Linked DNA regions of Homo sapiens: regions 1, 2 and 4 are each linked to region 3. The links are contacts of gene promoters, found by promoter capture Hi-C in blood cells and fetal thymus (Javierre and others, 2016). All regions are on one chromosome and are shown on one strand. Each heading gives the region's core, a stretch centred on a gene start or on the middle of the fragment in contact. The rest is flanking DNA. Distances are from core to core; before and after follow the strand shown. Region 1 overlaps LOC107986858 (a long non-coding RNA gene). Region 2 holds the start of GIMAP8 (GTPase, IMAP family member 8). Region 3 holds the start of KCNH2 (potassium voltage-gated channel subfamily H member 2). Region 4 holds the start of LINC00996 (long intergenic non-protein coding RNA 996).

What was found. The method cuts DNA at HindIII sites, captures the fragments that hold promoters and counts their contacts. A CHiCAGO score of 5 or more calls a contact.
Region 1: a contact is called between a fragment that was not itself captured here and the fragment with the promoter of KCNH2 in region 3, in 2 of 17 cell types (activated CD4 T cells and non-activated CD4 T cells). The highest score is 8.4, in activated CD4 T cells.
Region 2: a contact is called between the fragment with the promoter of GIMAP8 here and the fragment with the promoter of KCNH2 in region 3, in 1 of 17 cell types (total B cells). The highest score is 5.0, in total B cells.
Region 4: a fragment that was not itself captured here is called in contact with the fragment with the promoter of KCNH2 in region 3 in 1 of 17 cell types (non-activated CD4 T cells); the score reaches 6.7 in non-activated CD4 T cells.

Annotation. Positions count from the first base shown.
Region 1 is chr7:150,343,886-150,350,657 of GRCh38, forward strand. The region is part of intron 2 of LOC107986858 (a long non-coding RNA gene); the gene reads left to right. Among named protein-coding and RNA genes, the nearest start is that of RARRES2, 5.6 kb to the left of the region's middle. RefSeq lists a silencer at 3,750-3,982. The HindIII fragment of the contact is 2,219 bases long and covers 176-2,394 here.
Region 2 is chr7:150,447,192-150,453,424 of GRCh38, forward strand. It overlaps GIMAP8 (GTPase, IMAP family member 8), which reads left to right and starts at 3,439. Exons shown (of 5, transcript NM_175571.4): 1 at 3,439-3,984. LINC00996 (long intergenic non-protein coding RNA 996) reads left to right here. Exons shown (of 4, transcript NR_034033.1): 4 at 1-949. The HindIII fragment of the contact is 1,822 bases long and covers 2,414-4,235 here.
Region 3 is chr7:150,975,368-150,981,325 of GRCh38, forward strand. It overlaps KCNH2 (potassium voltage-gated channel subfamily H member 2), which reads right to left and starts at 2,954. Exons shown (of 15, transcript NM_000238.4): 1 at 2,471-2,954. The coding sequence starts at 2,546. It overlaps LOC124901776 (a long non-coding RNA gene), which reads left to right. Exons shown (of 3, transcript XR_007060592.1): 1 at 1-108; 2 at 1,169-1,344; 3 at 1,478-1,988. RefSeq lists an enhancer at 326-1,252 and a silencer at 3,622-3,971. The HindIII fragment of the contact is 24,052 bases long and covers 1-5,958 here.
Region 4 is chr7:150,428,436-150,434,965 of GRCh38, forward strand. It overlaps LINC00996 (long intergenic non-protein coding RNA 996), which reads left to right and starts at 5,219. Exons shown (of 4, transcript NR_034033.1): 1 at 5,219-5,394. RefSeq lists enhancers at 391-560, 5,360-5,459. The HindIII fragment of the contact is 2,700 bases long and covers 3,316-6,015 here.

The sequences.
Region 1 (6,772 bases), core at 35-2,534, 630 kb before region 3:
GCACTCATAGGTGTGGATGTGTGAAAGGACTACTTAGGGCATATTCATGAGCTCAGCTCCAGGTAACATGTCCCAGTCCAGGGGAGCAACAACAGGACTTCACTATTTAATGATGGTTAATGATCTTCCTGGTCATGACAGCTAAAAAAGTAGACTCACGTATCCAGTTGTTCCAAGCTTAGTTTTCCAATAACTGAACTGAGTACCAAAAAACATTGTCCTTTAATATTTGCAACCACATTGACAAAAATAGTTTTTTTTAGAAGAAGTGATTTGACTTTGAAGTAAGAGCATATCAGTTGCAAAACTACACCTATTGAAGTTAAGTACATTTTCCAACTTGTGTCAATTCGGTACCATTAGCATAAATTCAAAAATGATATTGCATAAATTCAAAAGCCATTCTAAATTTATCAATATCAACTAAGAATTCTTCACATTTTTCTTGAAATTTTGCCAATTTACACAATGCTGTATATTACAATTAAAACCTCTGTATGTTGATTCTTGTGACAAAAGTATGTAGATTGTAATTATTTGTCAGTATTATGAAAATATTTAATTTGAAATGCTTATATTTATCTGGCTAGGTCACAAATGAGGTTTCATCTCCTTGGATATTCAAATTTAGCCCATTTATATGTAGTGTGGTATTGGTGAGAAAACACTGACTTTTTTATTTTTAATTATTGAATATTTGGGTTGAGAGTAGTGACTCATGCCTGTAATCCTAGCACTTTGGGAGTCCAAGGTGGGTGGATCACTGAACCCAGGAGTTCAAGACCAGCCTGGGCAATATAGAGAGAGGCTATCTTTACAAAAAAAAAAAAGTTTAATTAGCTGAGTGTGGTGGCAAAAGTCTGTAGTCCTGGCTACTCAGGAGGCTGGCGGGGGACGATCACTTGAGCCTGGGAAGTCAAGGTTGCAGTGAGCTATGATCATGCCACTACATGACCCTCCCACCTCAGCCTCCCAAAGTGTTGGGATTATAGGCTCAAGCCACCACTCTCAGACTTGGCCACAGAGCAAAACCTTGTCCCCAAAACAAATAATAATAATACTTATTGTTGTATATTTGGTAATCATGGCTTCTGTCTCAAGAAAATCTTGGAGTTAGTTAAAAGTACAGTAAATCTTAGGAGAACTCTTCTACAACCCTGACAATGAGCTTTGGTAAAGAAAAGATCATTAAATTCATTATCTTTCATTGCTTTCAACAGTTCCATAAAACCAGCAGTGATTCATAGCATTTCCACTTAAATACGGAATTAGTTTTAATGGCTGTAGCCATGAGACTTGCATAGAATAAATTTCAGAAAACTGAGCACAAATATCTTCAATATGTACCCTAAAGTGAAATGAAGCAACATTGGAAGCATCAATCTCTTGTTTTAGCATTCCAATAAATACCTCAGTCACACCAGCCACATGGCAAGTGTTCCTAAACCTGTGGCTGGTGGCTACCATATTGGATATTGCAGGCAGAGCATGTGTTACCAATTATGTGAGTAAAAACTAAAACTAAAAATGAACAAATTTTTGTGTTTGTAAATGCATGGAATATTTCTAGAAGGGAAAAACAAGAAACTTATAACAGTGTTTGCCTGTGAGGAGAGGATCTGTCCAGCTGGGGAAAACAGAGGCAGGAAAACTGTACTCCCTTTGTACTTTTAAATTTTTATAACTTGTGGATAATTTGTCTATTAAAATATAAAAAAACTTTAAAAACTATTTTTTGAGACAGGGTCTTGCTCTGTCGTTCAAGCTGGAGAGCAGTGGCTCAATCATGGCTCACTGCAGCCTCAACCTCCTGTGCTCAAGCGATCCTCCCACCTCAGCCTCCCAAGTAGCTTGGACCACAGGTGCATGCCATCATCCTAGGCTAATTTTTGTATTTTTTTCTAGAGACAGGATTTTGTCACATTGCCCAGGCTGATCTCAAACTTCTAGGTTCAGCAATCCACCCACCTTGGACTCTCAAAGTGCTGAAATTACAGGCTTGAGCCACTGTGCTTGGCCTTAATACTTTTAAAATCAGAAAGCAAAGCAACAGCTTTTCTTTTGTCTTCTTTTCTTTTCTCTTTTTTTGAGACAAAGTCTTATTCTGTTGCCCAGGCTGGAGTGCAATGGCATAATCAGAGCTCACTGCAGCCTCCATGTTCTAGGCTCTATTGATCTTCCTGCCTCAGCCTCCCAGTAGCTAGAACTACAGGACCACCTCACCCAGCTAGTTTTTATTATTATTATTTTTTTTTTCAGGAGAGAGGAGGTTTTGTTTTGTTGCCCAGGCTGGTCTTGAACTTCTGAGCTCAAGTGATCCTCCTACCTTACCTTTCCAAACTGCTGAGATTACAGGTGTGAGCCACCGCGCCTGGTCCCAATAGCATTTCTGAAAGCTTACTCTGGCTGCTGTGTGGAGAGTGGATAAAAGGGAATAAATCTCAGCAGGAGATAATTGTGATTGTCCGGGTGAGAGACGAATGTGGCAGGGACAAAACTGGAGGCAGTGAAGATGGGAAAACAAAGTCCAGAAATACCTCAGGACTAAAGCACCAGGGTTTGGTGATTGATAAGATGTTGGGGTCGAGGTCAACAGAGAGGGGTGAATCCCAGGTTTCTGGCTTGAACAGCTGTAGACATGGTTTTGATCCTCAGGGAGAGAGAGACTCAGGAGGGCAGTGAGGAGAGAAGTGTGAGGTGTCTGTGGAACATGCCAGTGGAGATGTTGACTGAACAGGGCTGGTGGAGCTCTGGCTACAGATGGGAAACTGTGTTATCTGCATGCAGATCGAGATCAGAGCAGAGATGAGACTGGGGATTGGAGAAGGAAGTAGCTTGCCCTGGCGGTAGGAGGGTGAGGAGGGAAGAGGTTAGGACCTCACTGGGAGGGGATCCAACATGGAGTAAGAGGGGTGGGTGGATGAAGATGAGCCGGTAGGAGCTCAGTGGCAGGTCAGGAGCATGTGGTGTCACAGAGGTGGGGAAGGGGATGTTGGGAGGAGGAGGCACGGCTGGCAGTGTGTGCCCAGAGGTTTAGGAAGATGATGCCAGAAAGCACTGGACCTAGCGAGGCCAGCGGTGACTTTAGCAAGAACTGTCTCAGTGTGGAGTGAGTGTAGAAGCACATGGAGGGCAGAGGGAAAGAAGGAATAAGGTAGAGCTGGTGGGTCCGGGGAGAAGCCAGGGCCAGGGAGGGTGCTGTGGTTTCAATGTGCTCCCCAGAAAACTTGTTTTGGAAACTCTTTTTTCCTTCCTTCCTTCCTTCCCTTCCTTTCCCTTTCCTTCCTTCCTTCCTTCCTTCCTTCCTTCCTTCCTTCCTTCCTTCCTTCCTTCCTTCCTTCCTTCCCTCCCTCCTTCCCTCCTCCCTCCCTCCCTCCCTCCTTTTTATTTTCTGGCAGAGTCTCGCTCTGTGGCCCAGGCTGAAGTGCAGTGGCGTGATCGCGGCTCACTGCAAACTCCGTCTCCCAGGTTCAAGTGATTCTCCTGCTTCAGCCTCTCTAGAAGCTGGGATTACAGGCACACGCCACCACACCCAGCTAATTTTGGTATTTTTAGTAGAGGTGGGGTTTCACCATGTTGGCCAGGCTGGTCTCAAACTCCTGGTCTCAAGCGATCTGCCTGCCTTGGCCTCCCAAAGTGCTGGGATTACAGGCATGAGCCGGTGTGCCCAGCCTATGTTTTGGAAACGTAATCCCCAGTGCAACAGTGTTGGGAGGTGGGGCCTAATGAGAGGTATTTAGAGCACGAGGGCTCCTGCTTATAAGAGGATTAATTCCATTATAAAGCTGTGGCTCATGCCTGTAATCCCAGCACTTTGGGAAGCCGAGGCAGGCAGATCTCTTGAGCCGAGGAGTTCAAGGCCAGCCTGGGCAACATGGTAAAACCCCATCTCTACAAAAAAAATACAAAAAAAAAAAAAAAATTAGCTGGGCATAGTGGTAGTCCCAGCTGCTTGGGGGGCTGAGGCAAGAGGATCCCTTGAACCTCAAGGAGGTTGAGGCTGTAGTGAATTGAGATCATGCCACTGCACTCCAGCCTGGGTGACAAAGTGAGACCCTGTCTCAAAAAATAAATAAATAAATAAATAAAATAAATAAAAAATAAAAGTGTTTGAGGCTGCAAGTTCAATCTCTCTCTCTGTCTTGCCCTCCTTTTGCCCTTACACCATGGGGTGATGCAGCAAGAAGGCCCTCACCAGATGTTGGACCTTCAGCCTTGGACTTCCCAACCTCCAGAACCAAGAGAAATAAACTCCTGCTCATTATAAATTACCCAGTCTCAGGTATTCTGTTGTGGCAACACAAATGGACTAAGACAGAGGTGTGTCGTACTGTGTCTTACTTAGAGAAGAGAGGAGTAATCAACAGGAAAGCAGACAGTAAGTGGGGCACTGCAGGGGAAAGCAGCAAACTGTAGGGTTGGATGCAGGCAGGCGTGTGCCACCCAGGGAGGTCTGGGGCAGGAGACTGGCGGTGAGGCCTGGGACTCTCCGCTTCAGAAGACTGACTGCTCATTCCTGTTCTTTGTTTTTCATTTTTCCCCCTTTCTTTTTGCAATCTGGAAAATGCCTTTCCTTTTGCTCATTTACCAAAGGTAAATTTCAGAACATAAAGAGGGATGCACAGCAAATTCTGTCCCATGGATTGTTCTGAAACTGACCATATGCTGCAGCTTCCATGTTTTGATGATGAGACTTAAGTCTGTTACCAGGAGCAAGCCCACAGCTTGTGTGCAGAAACCATGGCTACCATCTACCATCTTTCAGGATGGTCCTCAAAAGACTTTGAAAAGTGACATTTTCTGATGTGAAATCCTGAGGTTCCACTTTTAATCACAGCATGTGATTGTTATATATGTCATTAACTTGATTATTTAAAAAGATATTAATAATAAAACTAAAATTTACCAAAAAATCCTACAACTTGGCAATAAAAGCAGCAAAATACTTTTTTCAAATAATTATTGGATCAATAAGAAGAAATAAACATGATCATAAACAAGAAATAAAACATGTTGCAGAATTGTTAAAAATAACAATAATGTAGCCAGGCATGGTGGTGGGCACCTGTAATCTCAGCTACTTGGGAGGCTGAGGCAGAAGAATCACTTGAACCTGGAAGGCGGAGGTTGCAGTGAGCTGAGATCACACCACTGCACTCCAGCCTGGGGGACAGAGTGAAACTCTGTCTCAAACAAATAAACAAACAAACAAAGAAAATTAATGAAAACACTATATATTAGAACCCATGAGCTGTATTTTGAGAAGTACAATTAAATACCTTTCTTTTTACTAATGAAAGACAAAATGAAAGTAAGCTAATTGTTAACTAGTAAAACCACCAATGAAACTTATGGTAAGGAAAAGGAAAGAACAAATAAAACTAAAAATGTAAATTAGAAAAGAGGAAATTCAGGAAATCCATTAATATATCACATTAATCAGTCAAGGAGAGAAAACCCCATGTAATAATTGCCAAAGATGCTGAAAAAACCTTTGAGAAAATTTAATATCCTCTGCTAATTAAAAAATAAAAGCTCTTGATAAGATAGATTATGAGTACCTTCTTAACATGATTATATGTATGTATAACATACTTAATGATGAAAAATAAACATTCTCATCAAATTCAGGATCAAGAAAAGGATGTCTTCTATTGCTATTATCATTTTACATTTTTTAAGAAACACTAGCCAGTGTAATTGGGCAGACATGAAAAATCAATGATTAAAAATTTCTTTTGAAAAATGGTGAGAAAAAGGCCGGGCGCGGTGTCTCACGCCTGGAATCCCAGCACTTTGGGAGGCCGAGGCGGGTGGATCATGAGGTCAGGAGATCGAGACCATCCTGGCTAACATGGTGAAACCCCGTCTCTACTAAAAATACAAAAAATTAGCTGGGCGTGGTGGCGGGTGCCTGTAGTCCCAGCTACTTGGGAGGATGAGGCAGGAGAATGGCGTGAACCCAGGGGGCGGAGCTTGCAGTGAGCCAAGATCGTGCCGTTGCACTCCAGCCTGGGAGACAGAGCAAGACTCCGTCTCAAAAAAAAAAAAAAAGAAAAATAGTGAGAAAAGTATCCTTATTTGCAAATGGTAGGACTGTGTACCTTCCAAATCCAAGAGAACTAACAGGAATAAATTACTGGAAACAATAAAATAATAAGTGATAGGAAATGGGATTAATATACAAAATCAGTAGGTTTTCTAACATGAATATATTTGGAAAAAAAATATATGTATATATATATATATATATATATATATATATTTGAGACAAGGTCTCACTCTGTTGCCCAGGCAGGAATGCAGTGAGATGTGTTCATGGCTCACTGCAGCCTCAACCTCCCAGGCTCAGGTGATCCTCCCACCTCAGCCTCCCGGATAGCTGGGACTACAGGTGTGCACCACCACGCCCAACTAATTTTTTTTTTTTTTTTGTATTTTGTGCAGTGATGAAGTTTCACCATGTTGCCCAAGCTGGTCTCAAACTCCTGGGCTCAAATGATCTGCCTTCCCTGGCCTCCCAAAGTGTTGGGGTTGCAGGCGTGAGCCACTGTGCCTGGCTGAAAATATAGTTTTTTAAAACCCCATTTACAATAATAAAAAAAGGTTAAGTTCTTAGGAATGAACTTAGTAAAAAAATACAAAGACTATTTAAAAAAACTAACAACAACAAAAAGAATATTTAAAAACTTAACATAATATTAAGGTATATGAAAGAAACCTTGACTAAATAGATAGAATCAAATCATAAAATGTGGCCAGGTGCAGTGGC
Region 2 (6,233 bases), core at 2,189-4,688, 530 kb before region 3:
CGACGTGCTCATCTCTAGCAAAACACCAGCCTCTCAGCCCTCTCTCCATAAAGGCCACTAGAAAGTACTGTGATGCCAGGCTGCTCCACATCCAGGCAGCCTGGGTGACCACTGCCCTTTATGAGAATCAGAAAAAGCTGTCTCCCGAGTAGTTGGAATTACAGGTGCATGCCACCATGCCTGGCTAATTTTTGTATTTTTAGTAGAGATGGAGTTTCACTATGTTGGCCAGGCTGCTCTTGAACTCCTGACCTCAAATGATCCACCCGACTCGGCCTCCCAAAGAGCTGGAATTACAGGAGAAGCTAAACGTTTTAAAATAAGTATATTATTTCTGAATTACTATAACAGACATGGACTCCATTTGAACAAGATACTTAATTCCATCAAAAACTTGTCAAAATATACAAATTTAGTCACAAGACACTTTACTACCATCTACCAAAGCTGTAGTAAACACACACATTTTCCATCTTTGAAATGAAATAACGTATAATAATGTTTTCCAAAATAACAAAGATGTCTGCAGTGAATAGCACTCCCTTTGATGTGGCAACTGGGTCAATCGTGTTAACAACTGTGAATTCATCTTTTTAAGAAATTCTTTTATTGTTTCTTTTCTTTTCCGCGACAGTCTCACTCGTGTTGCCCCGGCTGGAGTGCAGTGGCGCTATCTTGGCTCACTGCAGCCTCCGCCTCCCGGGTTCAAGCAATTCTCATGCCTCAGCCTCCTGAGTAGCTGGGATTATAGGCACGTGCCACCACACCCAGCTAATTTTTTTGTATTTTTAGTAGAGACGGGGTTTGACCATGTTGGTCAGGGTGGTCTCGAATTCCTGACCTCAGTTGAGCCGCCGGCCTCGGCCTCCCAGGAAGTGCTGGGATTACAGGCATGAGCCACCAGGCCCGGCCTTATTGTTTCTATTTGTAATAAATCTGTTCCCCTTGCTGCTGTCTCTGCGTTAGTTCTCCTCATTTCTAGCTTGGGTGCTGCAGCAGCCTCTGACCGGTCCTTCTGTCTCCAGCCTGACTGCGTTTTCTCGCACCTGCTGGGCTGTCTTAGGGCCCCGATGCCGGTGGCGTTTGCCATTCTCCGTCTGCCTGAGGCGTCCTCCCTCCGTCATCTGACAGGCAAATGTTACAGCCCTTCAAGACTTAGGCATTACCTTTCCCGCGCGGCCTTCCCTTCACTGTGCCTTACAATCTTCTCCATGGCAGGACATAGTGAAACTCCGTCTCTACCACTCCGTCAGTACCTGCCACAGGAAATGGCGGGTTTACGGATTTGTTTATAAGTTTATTTCCCCAATTGGTTGTTTTTCCATCTTGCGGGGTTTACATCGTCTCCTCCTCACTTGCGTGGCAGCCTGGACGCATCTCTATCACAGCACATTACCTCGTTTCGTGACCACAGCGTAGTCTCTTCCCCATCCTCAGACTGAGTTAGGGCCCCTTTGAGTCAGGTATTTGCCTTGCTAATCTTTGTGCCCTCTGTGTCTAATACGGTGCTTGGTCCTGGTAGATTTCTCCTTGCTTGCATAACATGTGTCTTCCTGGCTTATTCGATTTCTGGAAGTCTAGAACTTCTCCCCAGTGTTTCACCTGCCTGCTGAGTCAGGGCTCTCGGCCCGCTGGGGAGCATTTTGCTGCACTTGTCATTAGCCACAAAGCCACTAGGGGGCAGGGAGCCCCCATCCTGCCTCAGATCGGTGCCAAACCAGAACCCGGCAGCCTGCCTTCTGCACGGAAATCAATTCTCTAGGAGCTGATTTGCTGAAAGATCATTTTGCAAAATGGTCAACTCAGCAAATAATCGACTTGCTGAATCTTTGAGGAGTTATTTGCAGCTTCAGTTTTACTTAGAGCAATCCCTGGATGCTTAATATTTCATTTAAGAATGAGTGAGCCTTTTCTTCTCTATTTTGGGGAAACAGTTTCTTGCTGAGCCTCTGCCTCTGTTAGTACCCCAGCGGGGATGAACTGCAGTACCTGGCTTCGGGTTTTTGTCTTTTCATTATAATGAGTTGGTTTTATGTGCGTTGACCTACTGTAAAGGAAGGGTGGGGTTCTTCCAAAATAGATCCTCTTTCAATGAGGAGACAGGTAGAGTGGGACATGGGAAGGGCTTTGTCAGCTTTCCCCATCAAGATGTGTCCTGTGTGTCCCCAAAGCTCTTCTTGAGCCATCCCAGCATAACCAGGGTTTCCCTCAGGTTCATAACAAGGTAGAGCAGTCCTCAAGGCTGGCGCATGAAGACCAGTCCAGGGGGAGGGTGGATCCCTCGGGATGTGATAGGCTGACAGCAGCTCCCCAAAGCCTGTGGTTTTGACTACTGTAGAGACTTCATATCTGAAGCATGCCCCTCTACTTCAGCCACCCCCACTGCTCCTCCTTCTGCGGGGTCCCTTTGGAAAGCTTAGCACCACCTCAGACATTTGGAAAACTAACTTGAGCTCCAGTCCCTCGAGGCCCTAGCCTCTGCATCCTGTGAAGAGGGCCCTGCTGTGCAGAGCGCAGAGGGTCCCGCACTCACTTGGATGAACCTCTAGGGCATTCTGCTCAGTCTCAGGAGGGCAGACACTGTGGGACTCCACTCACATGAGTATCTGACGTTGCCAAAAATCATAGAAACAGGCCGGGTGTGGTGGCTCACACCTGTAATCCCAGCGCTTTGGGAGGCTGAGGCAGGTGGATCACTTGAGGTCAGGAGTTCAAGACCAGCCTGGCCAACATGGTGAAACCCCGTTTCTACTAAAAATACAAATATTAGCCGTGTGTGGTGGCGGGAACCTGTAATCCCAGCTACTCGGGAGGCTGGGGCAGGAGAATTGCTTGAACTCGGGAGGTGGAGGTTGCAGTGAGCCGAGATCACACCATTGCACTCCAGCCTGGGCGACAGAGCAAGACTCTGTCTCAAAAAAAAAAAAAAAATCATAGAAACGGAAAGTAGAACGGTGGTTACCCGGGCTGGGGTTCGGGGAGGTGAGTTGGGGTGTAATGGGGAGAGTTTGGGTGCTGCAGGATGAAAAGTCCTGCAGATCTGGCACACAACCATGTGAATGTACTTTCTACTGTGGGCTATACACTTAGAAATGGTTAGGATGGTACTATTAATGTTACATCATTTTTACCCTAGTAAACATTTTTTAAGAAGTCTTCCTCCGTGTTTGACTTCCTTATGAAGTAGAGACCAGGTAGTTTGGACACTATGTTCTTTCACAAAAGGGATTTCATTTTGTGAAATATTTGAAAGCATCGAAGTCTAGCATTTCACGTTTTGCAAGCTGGGGAAAAGCATTCATTCCCTGAGAAGCAGCGTTGGTCTGTCAGGCTTGGAGTTCCCCGGGTTGTGGGTTTTAGGGAAGGGAAGGGAAGCGAGGAAGGACTTGTGAGAGGAAGTCCTAAAGGCCACTTAAGGGCACACAGAGGCCCGGAGCTGGCTTTGCTCAGAGCTTGTAGCGGCGCCACAATCTCTGTCCTCTCAGGAACAGGAACTGGCTTGACGTCCTTTTCCTGCCCTATCCAAGCCCCTGTTCTTGCAGCCCTTCTGAAGCTCAGCCTGGCACCGGCCCCGGCGCCCCAGCCCCTGGCCAAGCCTCTGCTGTCATTTCTCCTCCCTCCTCTCAGTCTGCAGCTGCGGGACGGGCCGGGCTCCTCAGTTTCTGCTGTGTTGTGACCCCACGAGGCGCTCAGCACCCAGGGAAGGCGCGTGTGTCCCCGATGCTGGCTCCTCCCTGAGCCCCGACGGCTCTCGAGGTTCTGAGCCTGTGGCCTGCACAGGGAACTTCCTCTCCGACTGCATTTATGCCTCTGTGGATGTGAAGGCTATTTCTAGAAATCTCTTCCTTTGCAGAAACACCCGAAACCCTCCTGCCAGGAAGACCAGGGCCTGGGAAGAGGGTCGCTCTCCGGCCATTCTCCCCTCACCCTCCTCACCTTCCTCACATCCTGTGCCCTGGGGGACCAGCAGCTGCTTCCACCCAGGTGAGAGATGGAGGGATAGAGCCAGGTGGATTGCGGAGCCTCGGAGACTGTGGGACGCCGTGGGACCCCATGGGACACGACCGCAGTGCATGTGTGACATGTGCACTCGTGTGTAGATGTGTGTGCACTGGTGCATGGCTGTGGGGGAGGATGGGCTTGGCACCGGGAAGGCAGCCTGCTCAGCCATGGGAGAGGAGGCTGGGTTGAATGGCAGGGTTGAATGGCAGAGTTGAATGGCAGGGGCCCTGGGAAGCTTTCCTCCTGGTCCAAAGCGTGTCTCCCCAGCCTGCTGGGGAGTAGATTCGGCAGGATGGGGACAGAGGCATATTCCCAGACATCTATGAGAGTGGCTGTCCTAAAAGAAGGCGTGTCGGGGAGTGGGTGTGAGCCCTGAAGAGGAGGAGGGCTGAGACTGGCAGAAGGGAGGAAGAAGCAGGCGGAAGCAGCCGGTCAGATGCCCCATGAAGCTAGATGGTGCCGCAGAGCAGCCCCCAGGAGGAAGCCAGCGGAGCTCCTCCCGCAAAGCAGGGGGTGGGGGATGCTGATTTTTCCACGTCTGCTTTTCTGATCTTTCCTGCCCCTTGCACAGTTAGGATTCTGTGAACTGGGCATTGGAGGGATTGGAGGGGTCAAGACCTTACCAAAAGCAATATTTCTGATTTCACCTACATTTCAGCCAACCTGGTCCTCAGCAGTTAACCTCTTCCCTTCCTCTTGATGGTTGCCCTGCTGGGCTGGGTCTAAGGTCTTCCCCACGCTGGGCTCTGGAGGCATCTCCAACCACCCTGCTCTGTAAGTGGGAACTGCGATTAGATGTGGGATGAATCCCCGCATGGCTGGATGCTGTGCTCAGATGCCTGAGTCCACGTTTGCCTTGGGCTGTTTCCTGAGAAGGAGGCAGAGGCTGCCTTTACAGTCTTCAGTGAATTATAGGAAGAACGCTCTCTTTTTCTCTCAGTTGCTCTGCTGGGGTCTCCAGAGTGGCCTGGGAAATTGAGCAGAGGGAAATGTGGGCTGGCAGAGCGTGAGTGAGGGTGAGTTTGGGTACCTTTTTGTCCTTAAGTGCACTTTCTACATGTTGGGGTGAAGTGCTACTGGCTGGGAAGCTGTATGTGTGGTAGGAGTGTGCATGTGCGTGTGTGTATGTGGGTGTGTGTGTGTAGGTCCTGACATCATGTGGAGCTGCAGGCAGGAGTCCAGCCAAGACTCATTGGTTTGGTCATACTCTGCTGGGGAACCATGCAAGGCTGTGTCGCTTAATTGGGAAAGAAATTTCTTTCTTCTTCAGACCTGTGGGAGGCCTCTGCTTCCTTCAGCTTGCTGTTTTCTCACTAGTGTCTTTTTTTCTTAAATTAATTTACAGAGACATCTCACTTCACTTGCATATATATGTGTGTGTGTATGTATATATGTATATATATGTATATATGTATGTATATATGTATATATGTGTATATATGTATATATATGTGTGTATATGTGTGTGTGTGTGTGTGTGAGATATATATATATATATATATATATATATATATATACATGCGAGTGGAACTACAGGCACCCACCACCATGCCTGGCTAATTTTTGTACTTTTAATAAAGACGGGGATTTCATCATGTTGACCAGGCTGGTCTCAAACTCCTGATCTCGAGGGATCTACCTGCCTTGGCCTCTGAAAGTGTTGGGGTTACAGGCGTGAGCCACTGCGCCCGGCCTCCCTCTCAGTTCTAAAAACCGTTTTTCTTCTTTTCTTCACATTTCTGTCTCTCCTGTGATCGTTCATTCCTTTACCTCCACGTATTGGGCATATACTACATGCCAGGCACAATGTTAGGGCCTGGGGACACAGAACAAAACAGGCATGTTTGGAGTTTCAGCACATGCTGTTATGGAGCTTTGTACCAAGGGTAGTACAGAGAACATTTAGACATTTAAAAATAAAATTAATAAATAATTATAAAATATAAATAATATCAGATAGAATCAATGTTATGAAGAAAATTGAGGAGAGAGAGGAGATAGGGCATTAGTGTGAGAGCTTCTCTCCATAGGGTGTATCTGGGTGAAAGATGCTCTTAGAAGATCCCCGGTGCTGATTAGGTTTGAACCCACCGGAAATATTTTTCCCCTGGTGGACCGGTTCTGAGGTTCTGAGGTGTCTGAAGCTGCGGTGGGCTCTGCCCCGTGCCGTGCAGCCATCCAGATGATTCCAGAGAGAGGCCTCTGCCAAGGCCCTTGTGGGCTTTGCCTCG
Region 3 (5,958 bases), core at 1,704-4,203:
TCTGCTTTTAATTTCCCTGCTCTCCAGACTGGGGGGCGCTCCCTGAGCCACTCCTTATCCTGAGGCTCCCTAGGAAATCACTCCCCGATTATCTGAGGATCCTACCAGGTCAGTACCCCCTAGAACTTCTGCACACCACCCCCGCCCCAAGGGCAGTCAGGAGCTGAGGGGTGGGTGTGCCAGAGAGGATGAGGGAAGTTACACGTTGAACACCTAAGGACGCTGCATCTCATTAGGTCCTCTGACAACCCCATAAGGTAGGTGTTATTATCCTCCTTTTATAGATGAAGAAACCAAGGCTCCAGAGAAGTTCGGCACCATGCCCAAGTCTTGCAGCTTGTAAATGATAGAGCCAGCTTTTGAACCTTGGTCTGGCAGAGGCAGAAGAATAAGCTGAGGGTCACAGGCAGAAGCCCAAGGTCATAGGAAGCAAAGAGAGGGACCTGCAGCTCCAAACCCTGGACACACCTGGAGCCTGGGCGGGGCCTGAGACTTTGGCCCCACTTGTAGGAAAACAGACCCAAGAAAGGGGACCTGCCCAGGGATGTGAGGCCTTCCTCAGTTTGGCCTCATCCTGGATGAGCACCCCCATGGTTCCATTTCTGCCAGACTTGGCTCCCTGACTCCAGGCCTGCCCGGAGAGCCAGGCTGGCGAGTGAGCAGCAGGCAGGCAGCAGCCTCACTTGTGCCAGGCAAGATGCTCCTGGGATAAGAGCTTTTTATAAACAGAAGTTTCCGGCCACTTTGGCCTGTAATGCTGGGGCTTTCAGTAGCAGTTGGAATTCTCCCCCTCCCTTCCCCTCCCCTCCCCAGCAAGCATAGCCCTCAGGTTGCAGCCCTAGGCAATCCTACGTGCAAAGCTGGGCTGCAGCAGGGCACCCTGAGATAGGCCCAGGCCATCAGGACTTGGCCTCCTCCCACCTTTCTCGATTCTCCCTTCCCCTGGCCCCCAGAAAGTTGCCTTTTGGAACTGGTTCATCTTTTGGCCAGTTCCCAAGGCCCCCCAGACCTCCCAGGCAGCCATCAATTCCAGGAGTCAGGGTTTCCTGTCACCTGAAAAGACCCCCTAACTCGGCCTCCAGCTCTGCCACAGTCCAAGGCAGTCCAGAGGCCCAGCCACACACCCCAGCTTCATAGAAGAAAAACCACCCCTTGTCCTCTCTCCCAGGCTGGGGAAAGAAGAGCAAGTTTCTTCGAAGGCATGCCCCACCCCACCACACACCCTTCACTGAGATCCTGGAATACAGGGATGGGACAGAAAGCCTGCCCCTCCTCCACAGACCTGGAACCTGAGACCCAAAGAGGGAAGAGTCACTCAAGGTCACATGGCAGTCAGTGGCAAAGGTAGGGCTAGAATCCAGCACCCCCCCCCACATCCATCCCAGCCTCCTCGTAGGCCCGCCCACAGCCTCCCCCTGGGCCCACCCCCACCTCTCAGGGAGGCCCTCAACCAGTGTCATTGTCTCCACCCCCTCAGGATCATCTTGTTCCTCCGCTTCACACAATACTGACCATCGGACTGACCCCTCCTTCCCCCAACCACCGTTACAAGCACGCGTTGTCCTGTGCTCACAGGGTCATGGACAAGGAATGTCATCCTCTCCCAACTCCCAGGGCCCTTGGCAGTCACACCCACTGTGGCTCATGCAGCCTTAGGGACAGGCACATGAATGCTGCCCACCCCCAGGACATTTGCCTAATCTGGGACCCTTCTAGAAGCCTCCCTACCAGGCAGGCATTAGGGGTGCTGTACTCCCGGTCCCCATAAGGGAATTAGGTGACAGTCTCCAGGGCAAGAAAACCCACAACTTGGGGGTACCACAGGGAGCTGCTTACCCTCAAAGCCCAGCTCTAGCCCCAGGACACCCTGTCTCCACAGAGCCCACAAGCTCGCAGCCTTGTCAAAGACACCTCCCCACCGCCCATACAGGGTCTAACTCACGGGTGACACATGGGCTCAGGGTTATATACACACGGCACACACAAGAAGAGATTATGAGCTGACCCTGCATCCACGGCTTTTCAGTCCCTCCGGCACAACACAGTCAAGATCTGGCAAGACCAGTGTGCGCGCTGGACTCTCGGGATCCCAGGGTTTGGGTCGTACACACTCTTATGCCCTTGCACACAGCCCCATCCACGTCCACGCACCCAGAGTTGGGGACACCTGCACACTCCATCCCACATCCCTTCCCTGCACACTCAGCGTGTCACACACACTCCGATCCCAAAAGCCTGAGCTGAGTTTCCCGCCCCAAGCCCCAACCCCAAACCCTTTGGCCCGGTGCCCACGGCCCCGGTGCACCAAGCCTTGCCCCCGCCGTCCCCTCGCCAAAGCCTGGGGCCCACCAGGCCCCATTGACTCGCACTTGCCGACGCACACGGCCCGGGCACGCCCCCCCATCCACACTCGGAAGAGCTCGGCCCGCCCCCAGAGCCCCCTCCCCGCTCAGCCCCCTCCCCCACTCACTCTGGCCCTCAAACTTGCGGATGATGGTGTCCAGGAAGGTGTTCTGCGGCGCGACGTGGCCCCTCCGCACCGGCATCCTGAGCCCATGGGCGGGCCGGGCGGGCCCCCACCCACCCCGGCCCGGCCCGGCCCAGCACTAGGCTTCGGGTGGCCCGGCCGGGCCGTGGTCCCCGCACCCCGCGGCCAAGCCGAGCACGGGCGCGGCCAAGACTGGACTGCGGGCGCCGGGTCCTCGCTCGGCTCCCGGCTCCCCGCTCCGGACCCCGGGCCCGGCCTGGAGCCGCCTGAGCGCGAGCCGCCCGCCGCCGGCACACCTGTCTGCCGGCCCCCGCCGAGCCGCGGGGCCCGCTCCGCCGCGTCCCCGCGCTGCGCTCCGCCCGCCCGAGCCCCGGACTCCTGGCTCCCGCCTGCCACCGCGCCGACAGCCGCTCCAGCGCCCGCGGCTCGGGCAGCGCCTGCGGCTCGGCCCGGCCGCGGAAGGGTTAATGCGGCGCGCGCCCCTCCGGCTCCGGCCCCCGCCTCCCGGCCCCCTCCCGCCTGCCGCGCGCCCGCAGCACCGCCCTCTCCCCCCCCCATCCCGCCCCACCGCGCGCGCCCGACCTTCCCATTGGCTGAGCCGCGCCGAGTGCTCCCCCAACGCCAGCCCCTCGCTCTGCCAAGGAGCCCCTGGGACTCGCGCGCCCAGAAGAGGGGGAAGGGACCCTTAGGCAGGGGAAACCGTGAGGACAGGTGCCATGGCCGGCTTGTAGGCGGCCGGGATGGGGGAAGGGATTCCACCCCCACCCCAGATTAGCGACTAAGAAACCTGATTTGAAGGGAAACGGCGGGTCCTTATGCCCTGGTTCCCCACCACGCCGAGCACTGGCTTGGTATACACAGCACGCGCTCAGTGCCTACTGTGGGTGACCGGGGCAACGCCTGGACCCTCGAAGACGAGCCCGGAGTCAAGGGAGACCCTGGAAATAGGAAAAGCAAGACAATCTGAAGGCCCCAGAGCAGCAGAGCTCTGAAATAAGGGAGGGTTAAACTTAGAAGGGGCACGCCCCCTGCCCCAACACACACACACACACACACACACACACACACACACACATACACACACACACACACACACACACACACACACACATACACACACACACACGGAGAGAGAGAGAGCCCTCTGTGGGGCTCTGCATAGGAGCTGCACAGAGAGGGACATTCTGACAGCAGTTGCGGCCTCCTAGCTGCAGGATCAAAGAGAGGTCCCTGAGCGCGAGGTTCCAACCAGGGGATCCCCGGGTGCGAGCGGCCCGCCCTCCCCCGGCAGCCCGGGGCCAGCCTTGCACGCCCAATCGGCGGGCTCGGGGCCCTGCGGCGGCGGCCACGGCCCAGCCCCTCGGAAAGCCCTGGCCTAGCCGCAGGCCCCTCCCCCCGGCCAGCTGGCTCGCTCCAGCTGCGGCTCCCTTATTTAGGCAAGGAGGCCTAGGGATGCTCAAGGGCAGGCGGGGTGTCTGCCCCGCCGCCTGCTCATCGCCTGCTTGCGTCTGAGTGAGGGTCTCCGGGCGCGGTGTCCTCGGACTTAGCAGTCAGGCAGGGCCCCGGGAAGGCCAGGGCGGGGAGGCGAGTGTTGACAGCTGAGTGGGCGGGCGGGGAGGGAGGAGTCGCAGCTGAACAGCCGAGGGTCCCCTCCCTGCAGCCGGATCAGAGACCTGTCTAGATGGATGGGGCCATGTGGGGGCTCCTGAGGGCTTGCAGCTGCCTCTGTCCTTGGAGCAGGGGCTGGGTCTTGTCACCAGCGAGAACCATCATGGGGGGAGGGGAAGAACAAAGGGCAGGGAAGGAATCGGAGTCCCGAAGGAGGAAGGCGCAGAAAACTGTCGTCGTGAGACCACCCTACCCGGACTCTCACCTTCCACCCAGGAGCACAAAGATGCAAACACTGGGGCCAAATGGGGCCACTGGCCAGCAGATGACACTCTTTTTTATTTGCTGGTGGGTGGGCAGTGACTCAGGGAGGCAGCCAGTGGGAGAGAAGGAGGTGGCTCCACAGCTGATGCTAAAAAAGTCCAGAGGCTCTTGCCTGTGCAGTTATTCCTCAGGCCCTCTCCACTGCCAGCAGTTTCCTCACTCACCCCCCCGGGGGCCCAGGGCCTTCCACAGCACAAGCTCCTCCTTGGTGTAGCATTTGGCATCAGGTGCATCAACACATCTGGGTTCCGGGTAGAACCTAGTCCACGACTGGCCCAGCCCCCGCCACGCCCCAAGGCCACCCCTGGCTGCTGGGTTGCCTACCATGAATCCAGGATGATTCATGTGTGAGTGAAGTGTCCTCCTGTCCAGGCCAGGGGATGGAGAGAAAGTGAGCAAAGGCCAGCAGCTGAGAATGGGCATGGGAGGGCAAGAAGGGAAAGGGACATCTGTAGCCTCCCCCTCTCTCCAGACCAAGGGAGAGGGAGAGCCAGGCCCTGAAGGGAAGGAGCCACTCATCTGAGCTGGCCAGCTGTCCTCCACTCCTGTACCCGTGTTGCTGGGACAGGCCTCTGCTCTTATCCCAAAGGGAAGACAGGAGTCAGAGGAGCCCTTCATCCTCCCAAACAGAGAGGAGCCCAGGCACGGGGTAGCCCTCCTTCTGTGCACAGAGGCAAGAAGAGAGCTGTTCCCTCAAGCTGAGGAGAGACAGATCTCTCCCTCTCTCCCCCCAGCCCACTCCACATACTCAGAAGTCAAAGCTGAATGTAGATTTCTGACTTCCTTGGAGGCTCAGGGTAGAGCCTGAAGGCAGACCCACTTAGCCGCCCCCACACTCAAGAATTGAGCTGAGGAAGAGAAACGGTGAGAGGGGGCAAGCTCTCCCCAAAGCAACATTTCTGGGCCTCAGATGAGCTGATGGAGAAGCCCCCACTGCCTTCAACTTCCCACCTCTGCTACCCCCAGATCTGGGACAAAGAGAAAAGTGCCCAACCCTAATACCAAGAGCTGGGCTGTTAAGCCTCTAGAATCTGCCCCACCCCCATCTCAGCTCCAAGAGCCATTTCAGAGACCATTCCTGGGAAGAGCTCTCCCGCACCCTGCCTGTGACTGAGGGAACAGAGAGGCTACAGTGAGATATCCAGGCTCCTCCCAGCTCCCAAAAAGAAACAATTTAGGGAGAAAAGTCTGCAGAAAGCATCCTACCCACCCTGCTCTCTGCTCCTGCTCAGTCCGAAGGCATGGAGCCAGGACATCCTGGAAGGAGAAAGAGAAATGGAAGCCCACTCTGCCAGAGGTCCCCCAAGGAGCGGGCCAGGCAAGACACCACCAAAGTCAGGCCCAGGAGAGCCTGGGGTTACCCACAGGGGATTGGGAAGCAGTTCCAGTCGGCTGGGCACAGGAGAGACAGGTTACAGAGCAATGGTTCCTGGGAAACCCTGGGGAAGGAAGAACAGAGTGAGCAGGTCCCTTGATGCTTGAACACGGTGGGTTTTTTTTGTTTTTCTGTGCAACTGGGTCCCCAGAATAGAGATTTT
Region 4 (6,530 bases), core at 3,416-5,915, 550 kb before region 3:
GAATGAGGAGGTTAGATGGGAAGTCACTACTTCCAAAGATTTGTTTTTTTTTTAATGAAAGTAAAATCTTATTTTTTCAAAATATCACTAGGAAGACCCATGGATCACCCCAGGAGTGTTCCAGCTACAGCATGGGATGGGTCTCCCTCTCCCCAGCAACCTTGTCTGCTGGGCCCACCCCTTAGGTGTCCGGGGGCCCCCACTAGAACCTGCAGAAAACATTTGGAACCCACTGGACTTGCTTGCAGGTCCCGTAGAGTCCCACCCTCTAGGATTCTCTAAGGAATTCACAGGTACCCCCTCCGACCCCCAACCACACTCTCCACAGACACATGCACAGAAACGTAAGCACTGCCCACAGCTGTGTGCACACACAGGGACTTTCAGAGGCATGATTCAGAAGCCACACTGGGCAAAGTGCCCTCCTGCTGTTTGTGTTCACTCACGCAGCCCTTGGCCGCCTTCTTCCTGTCTTCTTTATTTGCTGCTGTCACTCCCACCTCCTGTGGAGTAGACCAGATGGCCGCATCTGCCCAAGGAAGTGTCTACAGAGGAAATGGCAAAGTGCATTCCAGCCAAGGTAGAAATCACTGGCAGGCAAGCTCTCAGGGCCAAGGCACTGGGGCTTTGGAGTCCTGGCCTGGGTCCCTACCCAAACCCTTGTCCCCTCAGATACATCCCTAGACCCCTTCCTGAGCAACCTGGAAAGAACCCGCAGACCCATTTTCTGCACATTCCTCAGCCCCACAGGGAGAGGAAAATGCTCCACCTCCTCCAGTTGCTGCCCAGGCTGCCGGCTACGAGGGGCTGTGGCTTCCACATTCCCTTCTCCAGTGCAGCCAGGCTTGACCTTTCAGAAAATCCTTGACGATGGGAAGGACTCCCAAGGATGGCATAGAATAGCCAGGCCCAGCCCCTGGACCTGCATAAAGCAATTGTTTGGAGGCAGAGAGTCGGATGCCTGGTGAATGGGGGGCTGGTACTCAATATAGTCAGAGAAGGCAGTGTCCTTACTCAGCTGCTCTCAGAGCGAAGGCACTTGCCCTCTGCAGGCTGCCCCAGAAGCCAAAGGAAAGCAACTGGAAGCTAAAGGGAAGGTTTGGGGACTTTAATAGCTGATATAGTTTGGATATTTGTCCCTGCCCAAATCTCATGTTGAATGAAATGTAATCTGCAGTGTTAGAAGTGCCTGGTGGGAGGTGTTTGGGCCATGGGGGCAGATCTCTCATGAATGGCTTGGGCCATCCTCCTGGTGATGAGTGAGCTCTTGCTCTGAGTTCACATGAGATCTGGTCATTTAAAAGTGTGTGGCACCTTCTACCTCACCAACCCCCCACCTCTCCCTCTTTCTCTCTCTGTCTCATGCTGAAGGAGACATGGAACAGTGAGATTCTCCCTTGGAGCCTCCAGAAGGAACCTGCCCTGTGGACACCTTGATTTTAGCCCTGTAGGTTCATTTCAGACTCTGGACTTCCAGAACGCTAAGAGAGTAAGTCTGTGTTGTTCAAGCCACTTTTTGTGGTGGTTTATTATGCAGCAATGGAGAACAAATACACCCGGCATGTCCTGGGACAAAGCCTGGGGACGGCGGGGGGACTGAGCTGGACGCCCATACCCCAAAGCACGAAGGGAAGAGACCAGCAGCTAACACTCGAAGAGGCCGACTAGTTCTCAAAAGGGAGAAGAGGTATGGCCTGAAAGCCAAGGAGCAAGGGAGATGCTAACTCTAACCGCATTATTTTTTTGGAGACAGGGTCTCCCTTGGTCACCCAGGCTGGAGTGCAGTGGTGCAATCATGGCTCACTGCAGCCTCGACCTCCTGGGCTCAAGCGATCCTCCTGCTTCAGCCTCCAGAGCAGCTGGGACCACAGGTGTGCACCACCACGCCCTGCCCCCTAACCCCATTTTCTGTCCCTGGGGTACATGGGGTGTGAGATAATAAACAGTCCCCACTGGAGAGAGATTATTTAATCCTCATCCTACTCCACAAGACCATTATCGTTACGATCTTCCTTCTATAGATCAGGAACCTGAAGTACTTGGGGGTGGAGGTCACTTGCTCAAGTTCAGGCAGTTAGGAAGGGCAAAGCAGAGGTTTGAACCGTGCCTGCACCTGTGAAGTTTGGAAACCATCATCGCATTCCCCCAGGGGAATAGTCTAGGATCTGAGTTCCAGCTTCTCCATCTGAGGCAGCGGTCCCCAGGCGCTGGCAGCAACGTGCAGCTGCTGGGGTACGAGGCAGCTGCCTGCAGAGACCGTGCCTTCCCCTTGGTGCAGATGCAGTGGGCAGCCTGCACTTTGCTGCTCCTGTGTCCGACTCCTTGGGGTTCTGTTCTGGAGACAGAGCTCAGTGGACTCACAAGACGGTCACTTTCTTCTGTTGAGTCCCTGAGTTTATTTGATGAAATCCAGAACTGAAGTTCCTGGAATAAGTCATCTTACCACCAGTGTTTTGAATTAACGAACTCAAATGTCATCTCCTCCCACACAAACATTTCTCTTTAGACATACAAGGATGAAGATGAAGAGAAAAAGCCAGGCCATATGCTGGGCTGTGGTGCGGATTACATTCTGTGTCCGGGGTGCTTGTTCGAATGTCCTACTTGGACGAGCTATTTGTGGGGCATAAGCAGAGAACCCAGACACAGATGACTTGGGAGGGGGCTCAGGATGCTTCAGTTTCCCCAGACACTCCTGGCTGTGCCATTGCTCTGCCCACTGGGAACAGTTTATATGATTCTCAGATAAGAACCACATCAGCAGAGAAGCCAAAAAGGAGATACGACCCTTGTTTCATCGTCCCTTGGTTCCAATTTCCTCAGGGGATTGGGCTACTCTAAACTTTTCTTGAAGTGAACAAGTCTTGAGATACATTTTTTTTTTTTTGAGATGGGGGTCTCACTCTGTTACCCAGACTGGAGTGCAGTGGTGCAAACACAGCTCACTGCAACCTCAACCTCCTGGGCTCAAGTGATCCTCCCACCTCAGCCTCCCGAGTAGCTGGGACTACAGGCATGCACCACTACACCGAGCTAAGTTTTTATTTTTTGTAGAGATGGAGTCTTGCTATTATGCCCAGGCTGGTCTGGAACTCTGGAGTTAAGTGATTTTCCTGCCTTGGCCTCTCAAAGAGTTGGAATTACAGGCATGAGCCACTGTGCTGGGTTATGAATATTTTTTTAAATGACGTGCATTCCAAAACAGTTTCACAGGGCTATAAGGAAAAGAAGAAAATTAGGCAACTATTTTGTATACTGCTTATAAAAAATACCGTTGATTTTCTTTCCTAGGTGTAATTAGCTTTTGAGTGGGAAAGCTTGTATTCCCACTTTGAATATTCTATTCAAAGTCGAGGACAGTCAAGTACCTCACATTCTAGAGAGAACATCAACAGTCCTCTTGGCAGTTATTGAAAAGGGACAGACCAACTCTGTCACCCCACTCTCCCTTCATCGGCCCACACTCAATACCAACACCAGTCTGGAGTGCATACTTGGAAGACTTGAAGGGGGAAAAGGAGTGAGAAGGAGGGGCTGTTGGAACCTTGAGCTGTGGGGAAGAGAGGCTTTGCTTAGGTGCTGGGGAGACTCCAGCTCCCACTTCAGCCCTGTGTCTGGGCCTGCTCCATGGTGGTGCTGAGGCCCTTCTGTGCCTGTGAAGCTGGACTATGAGAATTTTGTCTTTCTTGTGACTCCCTTTTCCACAGATCTTGGAGTTCAACAGGACACACAAGTCCTAGAACATTTAAAAACATAAGTAAATCCCCCTCCTTCTCCCACCTGGAGAACTTAGAATCGTCATGCCAACTTCTGGAGGCAATGGTCTTCAGATCCGCTTGGCTGTGGCCAAACTACAGGGTGTCATGGAGAAACACAGTCTGGTGGGAGGGGGCAGATGATGAAAGCAGAAGACAGGAAAGACAAAGACTTCTTGGTGTTATCTTCCATGGTGAGTGTGCAGTTTCCATATTCTCCAGCTATGAACTTGAACTCAATGGGAGAAATCTCCCAGTAAGATGTTATGTGGGTGGTGGCCGAGTAGGGGTGGGTTGGTCGCTGTGAACTGTCTGAGACTCTCCTGTCTTAACATTGGAGAAATGGAGACTTGAAGAGGTGAAGCAAATTTCCCTAGATGACTTGGGAACGTTGGGTTGTGGGGAGTTGGGTTTGAACTTGGACATTCAGTTTTGAATCCACGTGCTTACAGAGGGGTAGAGAAGGCTCTAGGGCATGAGAGTCAATTACTCAGCAGAGAAGGGAAAGGGAGAAGATTTCACACATTCCTGCCCTTCTGAGTTGATTTCAATCCTATCTGAGTAATAGACATCATTATGGTTAATATTTGTCTCTGATTGGTCGTCTTTGTTTTGACTCCCCCTGAATTAAGGATTCAAGGGCAAGTAGTTTATTTGAGAGTGGATCCCGAGAAACCCTGGTGGGGGAGTGGGAAAGTGAGAAAGAGAGGAGGCCACTGGAGGATGACTGGTAAGTTCATTTCCACTTTGGGCCACTGAGCTTGATCCTGCTGGGGAACCCTGGCAGGTACGTCTCAGATGCCAACCATGGAGCAAGAACACAGGGGTGTTCTTTCCATCTGGCCTTGGTGGCAGCATCTCCCAGGGGCACTGTGTCCCTGGTGCTCTGGTCTGTGGAGAGTCATAGGTGCTCTTGTTAAGCATCTGTGTGCACGGAGAGGAGAGTGCTTGGGAGGGATAGGGGGTGGCATCAAGGGCATCTGCAAACCTCAGGCAGCTGGAGGATGGCCAGGTGGCTGCCTCTCTGTAGCTCGTGTCCTGAAGTGTCTTTCTGTGCCCACTTATTTGTGCTCGACCTTGGGCTGCAAGTTTGTTGATAGTTACAGGGGGTGGCTCCAGCCACCGTGTTGGGTGTCTCACCCTGTCCAACCCCTGATCTTTATTGTGGACCAGGCTATAGACAGATCTTTGTCAGCTGCCCCTGTGAGTCTTCTGTGCAGACACCTTCCTGTGGAAGAGTTGGTCTCTGGTCACTGTTTCAAGTCTCTGCTGCGGCCACAGCTTTCTTATCTCTCACTTTGGGGATCTCAGGAAATGAGACACCAGGAGGTGTCTGCTGTACAAAATCCTATTTGCTCAAGGAACCTGCATATCTCAGCTCATGTTTCTTAATCATTTTTCTGATTCTAAAAAGTCGATGACAAAACTTCGATAGAAACACAGTTCTAGCATTTGGGATTGGAGGAAGAAGTGTATTCAGCATTCTACCTTCTTCCTGATTCTGTGAGCTTAGACCTGCTTCCACTTTCAATCTCTCTCATTGCAGGCTGAAGAGGACTGGCCTTTCAGTGGCCCTCGTGGAACGGTAGGAAGCTGAGCTGGACTCTCTGCCACATCGTTCGGTTCCCACAACAGCCTGGTAGGTCGGGGTAGTCACTTCCATTTGGGAGATGAGGAAGTCGAAGGAGAGAGCTAGAGTGAGCCAGAACTTAGGGCTGATCACAAATTGGATGAGTAATTGAGATAACTAGGATGGCCCCTAGCTAAGGCTGCAGGCAATGCCCCAAGGAGACTGTCACCTTTTTGTTACAATTTTCCAGGGTGTGATAGGACTTAGGAGGATGGTGTGTCTGTCCCTAGGACTGTAGGTTGTTCTAGAGAAAAACAAAATTTTAAGGACTTTTTCTTTGTGCATATGCCTCAGGTAGGCATCATGTGGGCCTAGGCAATAGGACCTAGGAAGGAGACTCCCCTGTTCCCAGGCCTGCCGCTCCTACTCAGGAGGCTGAAGGGTCCCCACCCCAACTAACCACAGAGTCAGACACATTCTTCCTAACACACCTTCCTCCCGACCTCCCAGCTTCCCTCTTTGTCACTGAAGTCATAGACTTTTTTTTTTGAAGAATTATCAACCTAAATAACAAACAGAAGCGATTCTCCAAAGATGATGAATTTATTTGGAAATGAGCAGCATGATTGTGATGCGGAGTGCCCGTGCCACAGCAGCCATGGGCGCATCCAGGAGGCTGAGGCAAGGGGAAGCTTTTAAGGGCACAAGGAAGACTGGGTGTGGTGACTCACGCCTATAATCCCAGCACTTTGGGAGGCTGAGTCGGGTGGATCACTTGAGGTCCGGAGTTCAAGACCAGCATGATAAACATGGTGAAACCCCATTTCTACTGAAAATACAAAATTAGCTGGGCATGATGGCACATGCCTGTAATCCCAGCTACCTGGGAGGCTGAGGCAGGAGAATCGCTTGAACTTGGGAGGCAGAGGTTGCAATGAGTCAAGATCGTACCATTGCACTCTAGCCTCGGCAATAAGAGCGAAACTTGGTCTCAAAAAAATAAAGGCAAAAGGAGGAGTGCACAGGAGTTGTTGAGTTGTTTTTGAACAAAGAGAACATTGGTTACTTGGGCACAGGAGTTGAGGTCAGATTCTTAGTGGAGATGGCATGTGAGGTGAGAGTGCTCCAACATGTGGCCGGCCGTCCAGTGACTCCTGTGGCAGGCTGCAGTTGGGAAGGCCCTTGGAAATAGTCCTTATTACAGG